3 separate regions of the Homo sapiens genome follow, and regions 1 and 3 are each linked to region 2. Evidence: promoter capture Hi-C in human tissues and cell types (Jung and others, 2019). All regions are on one chromosome and are shown on one strand. The core of a region is centred on a gene start or on the middle of the fragment in contact, and the rest is flanking DNA. Distances in the headings are between cores, read along the strand shown. Region 1 overlaps ZNF337-AS1 (ZNF337 antisense RNA 1). Region 2 holds the start of GINS1 (GINS complex subunit 1). Region 3 has its middle 37 kb from the start of ENTPD6.

Evidence for each region. The method cuts DNA at HindIII sites, captures the fragments that hold promoters and counts their contacts. A contact is called where the count stands out against the background at its distance.
Region 1: a contact is called between a fragment that was not itself captured here and the fragment with the promoter of GINS1 in region 2, in 1 of the 25 tissues and cell types used here (spleen).
Region 3: a fragment that was not itself captured here is called in contact with the fragment with the promoter of GINS1 in region 2 in 1 of the 25 tissues and cell types used here (aorta).

What each region holds. Positions count from the first base shown.
Region 1 is chr20:25,631,292-25,634,808 of GRCh38, reverse strand. All of the region lies in intron 1 of ZNF337-AS1 (ZNF337 antisense RNA 1), which reads right to left. Among named protein-coding and RNA genes, the nearest start is that of ZNF337-AS1, 9.0 kb to the right of the region's middle. RefSeq lists an enhancer at 432-481. The HindIII fragment of the contact is 7,167 bases long and covers 1-3,517 here.
Region 2 is chr20:25,405,732-25,409,214 of GRCh38, reverse strand. It overlaps GINS1 (GINS complex subunit 1), which reads right to left and starts at 1,542. Exons shown (of 7, transcript NM_021067.5): 1 at 1,320-1,542. The coding sequence starts at 1,394. LOC105372581 (a long non-coding RNA gene) reads left to right here and starts at 920. Exons shown (of 3, transcript XR_937403.3): 1 at 920-1,144. RefSeq lists enhancers at 396-1,153, 1,251-1,500. The HindIII fragment of the contact is 13,310 bases long and covers 1-3,483 here.
Region 3 is chr20:25,157,391-25,160,589 of GRCh38, reverse strand. No RefSeq gene overlaps it. Among named protein-coding and RNA genes, the nearest start is that of ENTPD6, 37 kb to the left of the region's middle. The HindIII fragment of the contact is 4,080 bases long and covers 1-3,199 here.

The DNA of each region.
Region 1 (3,517 bases), core at 706-3,205, 230 kb before region 2:
GGAGGTTGAGGTAGCAGAATCACTTGAACCCTGGAGGTGGAGGTTCTCAGTGAGGTGAGATCATGCCACTGCACTCCAGCCTGGGTGAGAGAGAAAAAAAAAAGAATATGACAAATAGCAGTTTCAGTATGAGAAAGACATATACTTTCTTATACTTCTGTCATTGTCTGCTGCATGATTTATTCAGATATTTTGGAGGACAGGGAAAGCAGGATTCTGCAATTCTGAATAATGGAAACTGTAGCTAAGTATATAAAGCCCAGGTAGCAATTATCAGGTATTCTGATAATACTTTGACAACCTTGTTGGTCAGCTGGTATTAATTTGAGTGTGTTCTAGTTTAGTTATTATTCATTTGGTGTCTTCTTATTTTCACTTCTGACTTCAACAAATGCTTGGAAACTTATTCTGTATTTGGCACAGGTCTATGCTGTGGGAGAATAATAAATATATTAGTGCTCTCAAAAACTTGCAATAAATGGGCCAGGTGCAGTGGCTCATGCCTGTAATCCCAGCACTTTGGGAGGCCAAGGCAGGCAGATAACTTGAGGTCAGGAGTTTGAGACCAGCCTGGCCAACACGGTGAAACCCCATCTCTACTAAAAATACAAATATTAGCCAGGCGTGGTGGCAGGCACCTGTAATCTCAGCTACCCTTGAGGCTGAGGCAGGAGAATCACTGGAGCCTGGGAGGTGGAAGTTGCAGTGAACCAAGATGGTGCCAACACACTCCAGCTTGGGCAACAGAGCCAGACTTCATCTAAAAGAAAAGAAAAAAAACCAGCAATAAATACAGGATGACAGATGCAGGCTGGTAATTTGGGGATACTGTTGAGAACTAAAGAAATAAAGTGCCTGGGATCATGGGATGTAAAAAAATACTTCATGGAGAAAGTGGGCCTCAAGAATGGCTGTGACTAGACCAGTAATTAAGGAAGCAGGGGCCTCCACATTTTATCCTCCTGCACTCACTCTTCGGTAATAAGGGGACAGAAAAGGAGGGGCATGAAAGGAAGTCTTTTTTCATCCTACTTCTAGGGAAACTGCCCCAAGAAAACTTTGGTTGGCAGCTTCTATAAATCATTGTGAATCTTGTGATCCCCAACATGCAGAAGAATCTCCTCTGTTTACATTTAGGTCTCATAGTATTCCATCCTGCAGATATGCCAAATTTTATTTTGTGGTTCCTGAAGCACCCAAGGGTGGTTTCCACCCTTTTGAATATACAGTGCTGCAGGAAATGCTCTAGTATCTGCATCCTGTAAAAGTCGTGAAAGTATTTCCAAGGGTAAATTCCTAGCAGTGGGAATGATTGTTTAAGGGACAGATTATGCCAAATTATTCTCAAAGGAGGCTGCACCAATTTACATTCCCTCCACCAGTACCTAAGGGCCTGTTTTCCTACATGGTCACCAGCTCTGACTGTCAAATGTTAAACTTTTGCTTATCCCATATATGTAGGTGGTATCTTCTTATAGTTTGGATTTGCATTTCTTAAAATGTGAGTATGATTGACCACCTTTCCGGGATTAATTGGCTGTATTTACTTTTCTATCCTCTGGCCAAGCTAAGTGTTAAGAATCCAGGGAAGATACAATTTTGAGTCATCAGCATATACATACAGATGGTATTTAAAGTCATAAAAGTGAATGAGATCACCAAAGAAGTGCGTGTAATTAAGCAGCCCTGGGGCACTCTAATACCAGAAAGTCAGGGAAATGGGAGGAACCAGAAAAGAGACTAGGAAGAGTAGTCAGTGAGCCGGGAAGAAAATGAAGAAAGTGTGGTGTCCCAAAAGCCAAGTAAAGAAAGTTTATCAGCTGGGCACGGTGGCTTACACCTGTAATCCCAGCACTTTGGGAGGCCAAGATGGGTGGATCACTAGAGGTCAGGAGTTCGAGACCAGCCTGGGAAACATAGTGAAACCCCATCTCTACTAAAAATACAAAAATTAGCTGGGCACGGTGGTGCTCACCTGTAACCCCAGCTTCTTAGGAGGGTGAGGCAGGAAAATTGCTTGGACCCAGGAGGTGGAGATTGCAGTGAACCAGGATTGTGCCACTGCACTGCAGTCTGGGCAACAGACAACAGAGTGAGACTCCATCTCAAAAAGAAAAACAGAAAGAGAAAAAAAAAAGCTTATCAAGGAGAAAGCAGTGACTGGCTAGTTCAAATGCTACTGATAGGACAAATAAGAAGAGGCCAGGAAATGGCGATTGAAGAGCAAGGTGAAGGTCATTGGTGGCCTGACAAGAGTAGTTTCGGTGGAGTGGTGTCAGTGAAATGCTAAATGGAGTGGATTCAAAGGGTGGGAGAACTTTGAAGATGCAAAACCAAGGAGGAAAGAATTGCTGAAAGATGCCCCTCAGTAAGGGTGGGATCCAGCAAACAACAGAAAGGGCTGGCGGTAGCTGGGTAGATGTGGGAGCCTAAGATTCTCTTCTGGTTGCTTCTGTTTCATCCCTATAAACCTGACAGTGCCCTAATCTGAGAAAACTTTAAACCAGAAGGCACACTTGCCCTTGAGGCCGTTCAGTTGTAATAAACTTGCACAGGGGAGGTAGTTGGGAAGGGCCAGGAGAACTTCCCCTAATATAGGAGACGACAGGCTCAACGCTGGGCATCAGCATCCGCACAACAATGGTGCCATTCTGCAGATGGAAGAATGCAGGAGAAACATGACTACAGTTGCATTTCCATTCATTCCTAGATCAAGTCTCACAGTCAAAAATCTTTTTTTTTTTTTTTTTTTTTGAGGCAGAGTCTTATTGTCGCCGAGGCTAAAGTGCAGAGGCAGGACCATAGCTCACTGTAGCCTCAACCTCCTGAGCTCAAGCTATTCTCCCACCTCAGCCTCCCAAGCAGATGGGACCACAGGCACACACCACTACACCCAGCTAATTTTCAAATTTTTTGTAGATATGGGGTCTCACCATGTTGGCCAGCCTGGTCTCAAACTCCTGGCCTAAAGCAATCTGACTGCCTCAGCCTCCCAAAGTGCTGAGGTTATAGGCATGAGCCACTGAGAACAGTGACTTACAAATCTTCTATTCAAACCTTGTTTCCTGCAAATTTGAAGATGTCCTCTAACTACTAGTGTTAATCTATCAAAATGGCAGTTTAAGTACTGTGCTTAGCAAACAGGTTCATCTGTAATGAGTCTGTACATCTCCCCTCCTTAAAATGCTACACGAAGACTCATTCATCCACAAATGTTAGACTAAATCCATAAACACCCTAGAAGAAAACTTAGGCAATACCATTCAGGACATAGGTGTGGGCAAGGACTTCATGACTAAAACACCTAAAGCAATGGCAACAAAAGCGAAAATAGACAAATGGGATCTAATTAAACTAAAGAGCTTCTGCACAGCAAAAGAAACTACCATCATAGTAAACAGGTAACCTACAGAATGGGAGAAAATTTTTGCAATCTACCCATCTGACAAAGGGCTAATATGCAGAATCTACAAAGAACTTAAACAAATTTACAAGAAAAAATCAAACAACCCCATCA
Region 2 (3,483 bases), core at 293-2,792:
AGCATGCCTTATAAGTGAACAACAAATTCATGTAGGCTGTGAGCCACCTTCCTAGACTCCCCACAGGCCCTATTGGTCACCCTCTCCAGTGTGACCACGTGACTTTGTGCTGCAGCATCCTTTGGCTGGGATGCCTCGCTTCCTTCTCAGATCAGTAACCTCATCCTTGAGGATGGAAAGGCTCATATATCACCTCTTCTACCCCAGCTCATACTGGTGTTTCTCCTTCGTGCTCCTTGCTATACCTCCTTAGTATCACTTAGCGTGGTGAATTCTATTATCTGTTTTTGTGCCCATCTTCCAGCAGAATGTGTCCTGACATCCACATAATGCCTGCTCTATGACGTAAGTGAAATATACAATTTAGAGTGCAGGCTCTGGAGCCAGAGTGCCAGGGTTCAAATCCTAGCTTTCTTGCTGTGTCACCTTAGGCAATATACTTAAATCTCCCCAATCCTATGCATATATAGCTGAAAAAAGTAGAAAACAATAGTTTAAACATCAAAAAGTTATTTTTGTTTTGTTTGGGACAGGGTCTCCCTGTCACTCAGGCTGGAATGCAGTGGCAGGATCAAGCGATCCTCCCGCCTCAGCCTCCCAAAGTGCTGGGATTACAGGCAGGAGCCATGGTACCGGGCCCTCAAAGGGTTATTAGAAAGACAAAAGATAATGTACATGAAGTGCTTAGCACTCTCCCTGGGGTAGCAGTGATAGAAAAATACAAATAATCATAATATTAATAGTAACAGCAGCAGCAGGAGAAAAGTAATATTAATAGCTAACACTGACTCAGCCCTTACTGTATGTGAGGCATATGCAGAGACCCTTACACATGCCACTCATTTTGCGTCCACTACATCATGCGTTGGGTACTATTATTGTCACCATCCCCATTTTTGCGTATGAGAAAACTGAGAGCACAGAAAGCTTGAGTAACTGCCCCAAAGTCACACTACAGAACCAGAATCTCAGCCAGGTTCCAGAGGCCTAGCTTTTACTGACCACGATTAGATGCCTGAGTGAGCAAGAAATGCTAAATTATCAGGCAACCTGTAAATATTTTAAGGGACCGGAACAAATCTGTCCAAGGAAAACTGCTAAAATGCAAAATTTGCTCAGATGAGGAAATTCACCAAATCGCTGGGTAGCGTAAGCATGAATGCTTTCTCTTTCCTCCTGAATTTTGTTTTGCTGCTTCCCAAGTTTTCCGGAGCTCGGAGGGAACAAGGTGCGAAAGTGAACCCTGACGGGGAGCCGCCCCGCCCCAGAGCCCAGGGCCCAACGCCGGCATGCCCCGTCCAAGTCTACCCGCCCCTCACGTTGAAGGCAGGCAGTTGCCCTTCGGGCGCGCGATGCAGCTCGCGGATCAGTTCCATGGCTTTTTCGCAGAACATGGCGGACGCTTCCCACTCCCGCGGCCTTGCCAACCACCAGCTCTCACGCCAAAATGGTATCTGGGCTCTCGGCGCCTCACTCCTTTCGTTCTAGTCCTACAGCGCCAGGCTCTCGCCTCGGCCTCCGCTCCGCGCTTTGGCGCCGAACAAAGCTAGCCAATAGGAACGCGCCTACGGCGCCCGAAAAGGGACATCCACCGCTCAGCCGCATTCCAAGAGGGGCGGAGTGGGAGGGGTCTTTCCAAGGTGAGGTCCCCGCCCCGGAGATGGCAGAACCCCTCGGCTGAGCAGAGACGGCTTTTCCAGTTCTCAGGCAGTGGGCCGGGGGACTCTACGGGCAGCAGAGCTGGAAATAAATGCACGCCCCGCAGCTTCCTTGTCATTTTCCTTTTGATTCATTCATTCTCGTTTAGGTTCAAGAAAAGAGCACTTTGAGGTTAAGAGGAAAGGCCCAAAAACTTGGTGTGCATTGGTAGGACGCAAGGGTTTCAGTTTTGCAGTGCGGGTTTTCTGTTTGATATTAAAATGAAACTCTCTTTTATTGGGTACCTAGTGCTGGTAGGGACTGCAGTGTGTATTTCATTCCCACAATTATCTCTGAAGTGTTTTAAGACCCGGGATTAATAAGGAAACAGAAGTTAGGTAACTTGCCCAAGGTCACACAGCTCCAGAGTGATTAGACTGTTATTTAGGCTTTCCATTTCCAACACCACAGTACCACCCTTTGATTTTAAAATAGTCTTTTAAAAATATTTGTAATATCTGCCCTAGATTAATACGAATTCACTAGGAATTTTCTTGGCTAGATGGTTATGGAATATTTCTTAAGCATATGGAAGATGGGAATCACTGCTAAAGAATTGTTTTATTAGGCAATTTTTCAAAAAGCAATGTTAATTTCTAACAAGCAATCTTGGATTTTTTTTTTTTTGAGATGGAGTCTCGCTCTGTCGCCCAGGCTGGAGTGCAGTGGCGCGAACTCGGCTCACTGTAAGCTCCGCCTCCCGGGTTCACGCCATTCTCCTGCCTCAGCCTCCCGAGTAGCTGGGACTACAGGCGCCCGCCACCACGCCCAGCTAATTTTTTGAATTTTTTAAGTATAGACGGGGTTTCACCGTGTTAGCCAGGACGGTCTCAATTTCCTGACCTCGTGATCCGCCCACCTCGGCCTCCCAAAGTGCTGGGATTACAGGCATGAGCCACCGCAACCGGCGCAATCTTGGATTAATTCTAGCTAACCCTAGAAACTATGTTGATCTTTTGCAAATATACAGTAGATATGTCATCTAAGGAATGGGCATGGGAATGGCCTACTCAGGCTTATGTTGAATAATGACATTGCCTTTTTTTTTTGGAGACAGGGTCTTAACTCCCGTTACCCAGGTGGAGTGCAGTGGCGCCATCTCAGCTCACTGCAGCCTCCACTTCCCGGGCTGAGGTAATTTTCCCCCCTCAGCCCTCTGAGTAGCTGGGACTACAGGCTCAGGCCACCACACCTGGCTATTTTGTATTTTAAGTAGAGACAGGGTTTCACCATGTTGGCCAGTCTGGTCGACAACTCTTGAGCTCAAGGGATCCGTCCGCCTGGGCCTCCCAAAGTGCTGGAATTACAGCGTGAGCCACCGCACCCAGCAAACATTGCCTTTTTGAAACCGCCTTTGAAAAAATTATAATAGAGAAAATTATTACAGTGAAAGAGATCTGACCTAACTGGCTCCATCTTGCTTCTAACCGCCAAGCCATCCTTGTTCATTCCTGGGCTTAGGGCGAATTAACTTGGGGAGAAACTTAGTTTATAGTTTAATTTTGAAACAAATACTTAGCCCTTTACCAAAGCGAAACCCTTTTTGTCTGGGGACTAGATTGCCTTTGCAGGAGTAACAGAGTAGCCACAAGACTAGAAATTTACGAGTCTCGCAGCGGGAGGCTACAAGATTCTAAAACCTCCCCAAGTGCTCCTAGGGATAGCAGCACTATTATAAAACCTAAGACCAGTGCTTGAGATATTTTGTAGACCCTGCACTTGATGGGATCAGCTGGCACCACCCAGATCGATAAACTGGCTCATCTGGTCTTGTGGTCCCCACCC
Region 3 (3,199 bases), core at 102-2,601, 250 kb after region 2:
ATTAATTATCTTAAGGGAAAAACAAGCCTGCTGTGGAAATTTATTCCTTAATGGGCTAGAATACACAAGACATACCCACCCGTGAAGAGCTTATGAATTGTAACTTACTGACATATCGTAAGAATTTACTACCCATTAAAGAGGAAGAATGGAGGAAGAGAAAAATACTTTAGACCTCAAATAAAGGAAACTGTTTTTTTCTTTTCACAAAAACAACACACATGCTATTGTTTTCACAGGTCCCTTTAATTAACTCAGACCTGGATGACATAAAATGAAGTTTCTGAAGAAGTTCAGGTAAATTCAGCTTTGGAGTCACTTATGTTCATTTTGTTCCTTTATTTTACTATTATCCCAAAGGTTATTTTTCTTGTTGACATAGAGATTTTTTTGTAAAATAATCACTGGGTTATTTCAGGATTATACTGTACACTTCAATTGTTCTCAAGTGTTTTATCCCTAAAGGGTGAGTTTTCCATAGACTGTGTGGAAACAGCTAGAAAATTCTTTGTGAAAAATCTGAATGAATTATCTTAACGGCTGTCTTGAAATTTGGTACTTCCTCCCTTATTAAGGAAATTATGATTAGTTACTAATCTTTAAAAATAGGTATATCCTAATAGAGAGTCAACTTCCTGCAAAACAAAATATTAATGCCTCAGGGGCTACTGCAGGACAAAACCTTTTGCACATTAAAATGTCCGTAACAATTTCCTATTTCAAATGCATGGCAGCAATTCCATTTTTGGTGGTCTTTAACATAATGGACAGATTTACTATCACTTACTGATTTTATGGAAAAGGAATTGGCTATCTTATTTCTATACTAAACTTATTTTTCTTATCTTATTTCTTATCTCTTATGTCTTTTTCTTATCTTATTTCTATACTAAGCTTATTTTTCTCAAAACAAAAATTCTAACTGAAAAGTTGTCATTAAAAAAAATTTCAGGTTGACTGGATTTTTTCTGCTGTAACTTTAAATGTTATTAGGTTTTGTTTCTTGTTTCTAAGGTAGCTCAAGTCTTCCCAAGGTAATAATAGTAAATCTTATTCTTCAGAATTCTTTTAAGCTGACTTCAGCTTTTCCCCAGTTTTATTAAACTATGACCAATGTTCACAATGACAACCTGAGATGGCTGCAAGGCCCTAATGTGCCATTGTAGTCTTTCAGCACAGTGTAGTGTTGAGTACGATTCCATGCATTCTAAATTTTTGAAAATTGATGATCCATGGAAGGTCCATGGAATTATACCTCAGATCAAATATGTGTTTACTCCGTTCATTGCTGTTTCACTTTAGTTGTATATCAGACATATAAGCTATGAACACAAGTTTGTAGGAAAAGTATCTTCTGGCTGGGTGGTGGCTCACACCTGTAATCCCAACATTTTGGGAGGCCGAGGTGGGAGGATTACTAGATCCCAGGAGTAGTTTCAGACCAGCCTGGGCATTGCAAGACCCCATCACTAAAAAAGAAAGTAAGAAATATCAACTGAGTGTGGTGGTGTGCACCTGGAGTCCCAGCTATGTCAGGAGGCTGAGTTGTGAAAGTATCTTCTGAAAACATAGCATTTGAAAACTGCAGAAATTATTTAATTTTTTTTCTTTTAGTATTAAGAGCTTTATTGATTTCTCTAGGACATCTTCTTGGTGAGGAAATTAATGGCAGTTTTCTTGACATCCAACCTGAAACTGTGGTGGTTCTCTGTGAATTTAAGTTTTAGATATTTATTTGTGTCACCTGTTACAAAGATTTTGCCCTTGGTATGTTATGCTCAGGTCAAAGGTTCCTGAAACACAAGGCTCAGTGTGTACCCTGGATGGGAAAATGAACTGGTGTTGACATATATGCATGCCCAGGAGGAAGACTGGGAACGACTTAATGAGTTGGGGTATGCGGAGAAACAATGAAATATTGAAAACTGTCTATATAAAAATCACTGTTGGGCATATGCATTAAAAAACAATATGTTATTGCAAATTTAACACTAAAATTATTTTCCCAAACAGAAGATATTGTCTAAGGAAGAATAAAATGCTGAACCCCTATATTCAGACTGTTAATCTTACCTGGTAGTTTATGTATGTATTTCAATACTTTGTCATCACGTAGATATCTTAAGATTTATTATATGAATATCTGCATGTGTGTCATTAAGGATTACAAAGTAGTGCTCACACAAGAATTAACAACAATCCTTCTCAAACTCTTCCAAAAAGTAGAAGAGGAGGGAAAGCTTTCTAACTAATTCTCTGAGGCCAGCATTACCCTGATACCAAAGCCAGATACAGACATCACAAGAAAAGAAAAATATAGATCATATCCCTTGTGAGTACACATATTAGTCAGGTTGGGTTGCCATAACAAAATGCTATAGATTGGGTGGTTTAAACAACAGACATTTATTTCTCACAGTACTGGAGGCTGGAAGTCCCAGATGAAGGCCCAGTGAGGTTGTCTGGAGGGGGCTCTTTCCTGATTTGCAGATGGCCACCTTGTCACTGCGGTCCTCAGATGGCCTTAGCTCTGAGTGCATGTGACAAAAGAGAGAGGGAGAGATATTTCTCTCTTCCTCTTCTTATAAGGCCACCAATCCTGTTGAATTAGGCCTTATGAACTTAATAATCTTAATTACCTTCTAAAGACCCTATCTCTAAATCAGCCACATTAGGCGTTAGGAATTTAATCTATAAATTTTTGGGGAACACAATTCAGTCCATAGCAGTATAAATACAAAAAACTAGCAAATCTAATTCAACACCTTTAGAGGAGTACACATCATAACCAAGTGGGACTTATTCCAGGAATGCAAGGGTGGTTCAGTATATGAAAATCAATCTGTTTTATATACTACGTTAATAGAATGAAGGAAAGAAACACGATCACCTCCATCAATGCAGAAAAAGCATTTAACAAAATTGAACACCTTTTTATGATAAAAGTAATTGACAAACTAGTAGTAGGAGGAAACTTCTTCAATATCATAAAGAACATTTGGTGGGAATTGAATAATGAGAACACATGGACACAGGAAGGGGAATATCACACACCGGGGCCTGTTGTGGGGCGGGGGGAGGGGGGAAGGATAGCATTAGGAGATATACCTAATGTTCAATGATGAGTTAAGGGGTGCAGCACACCAACATGGCACATGTATACATATGTAACTAACCTGCAGGTTGTGCACATGTACCC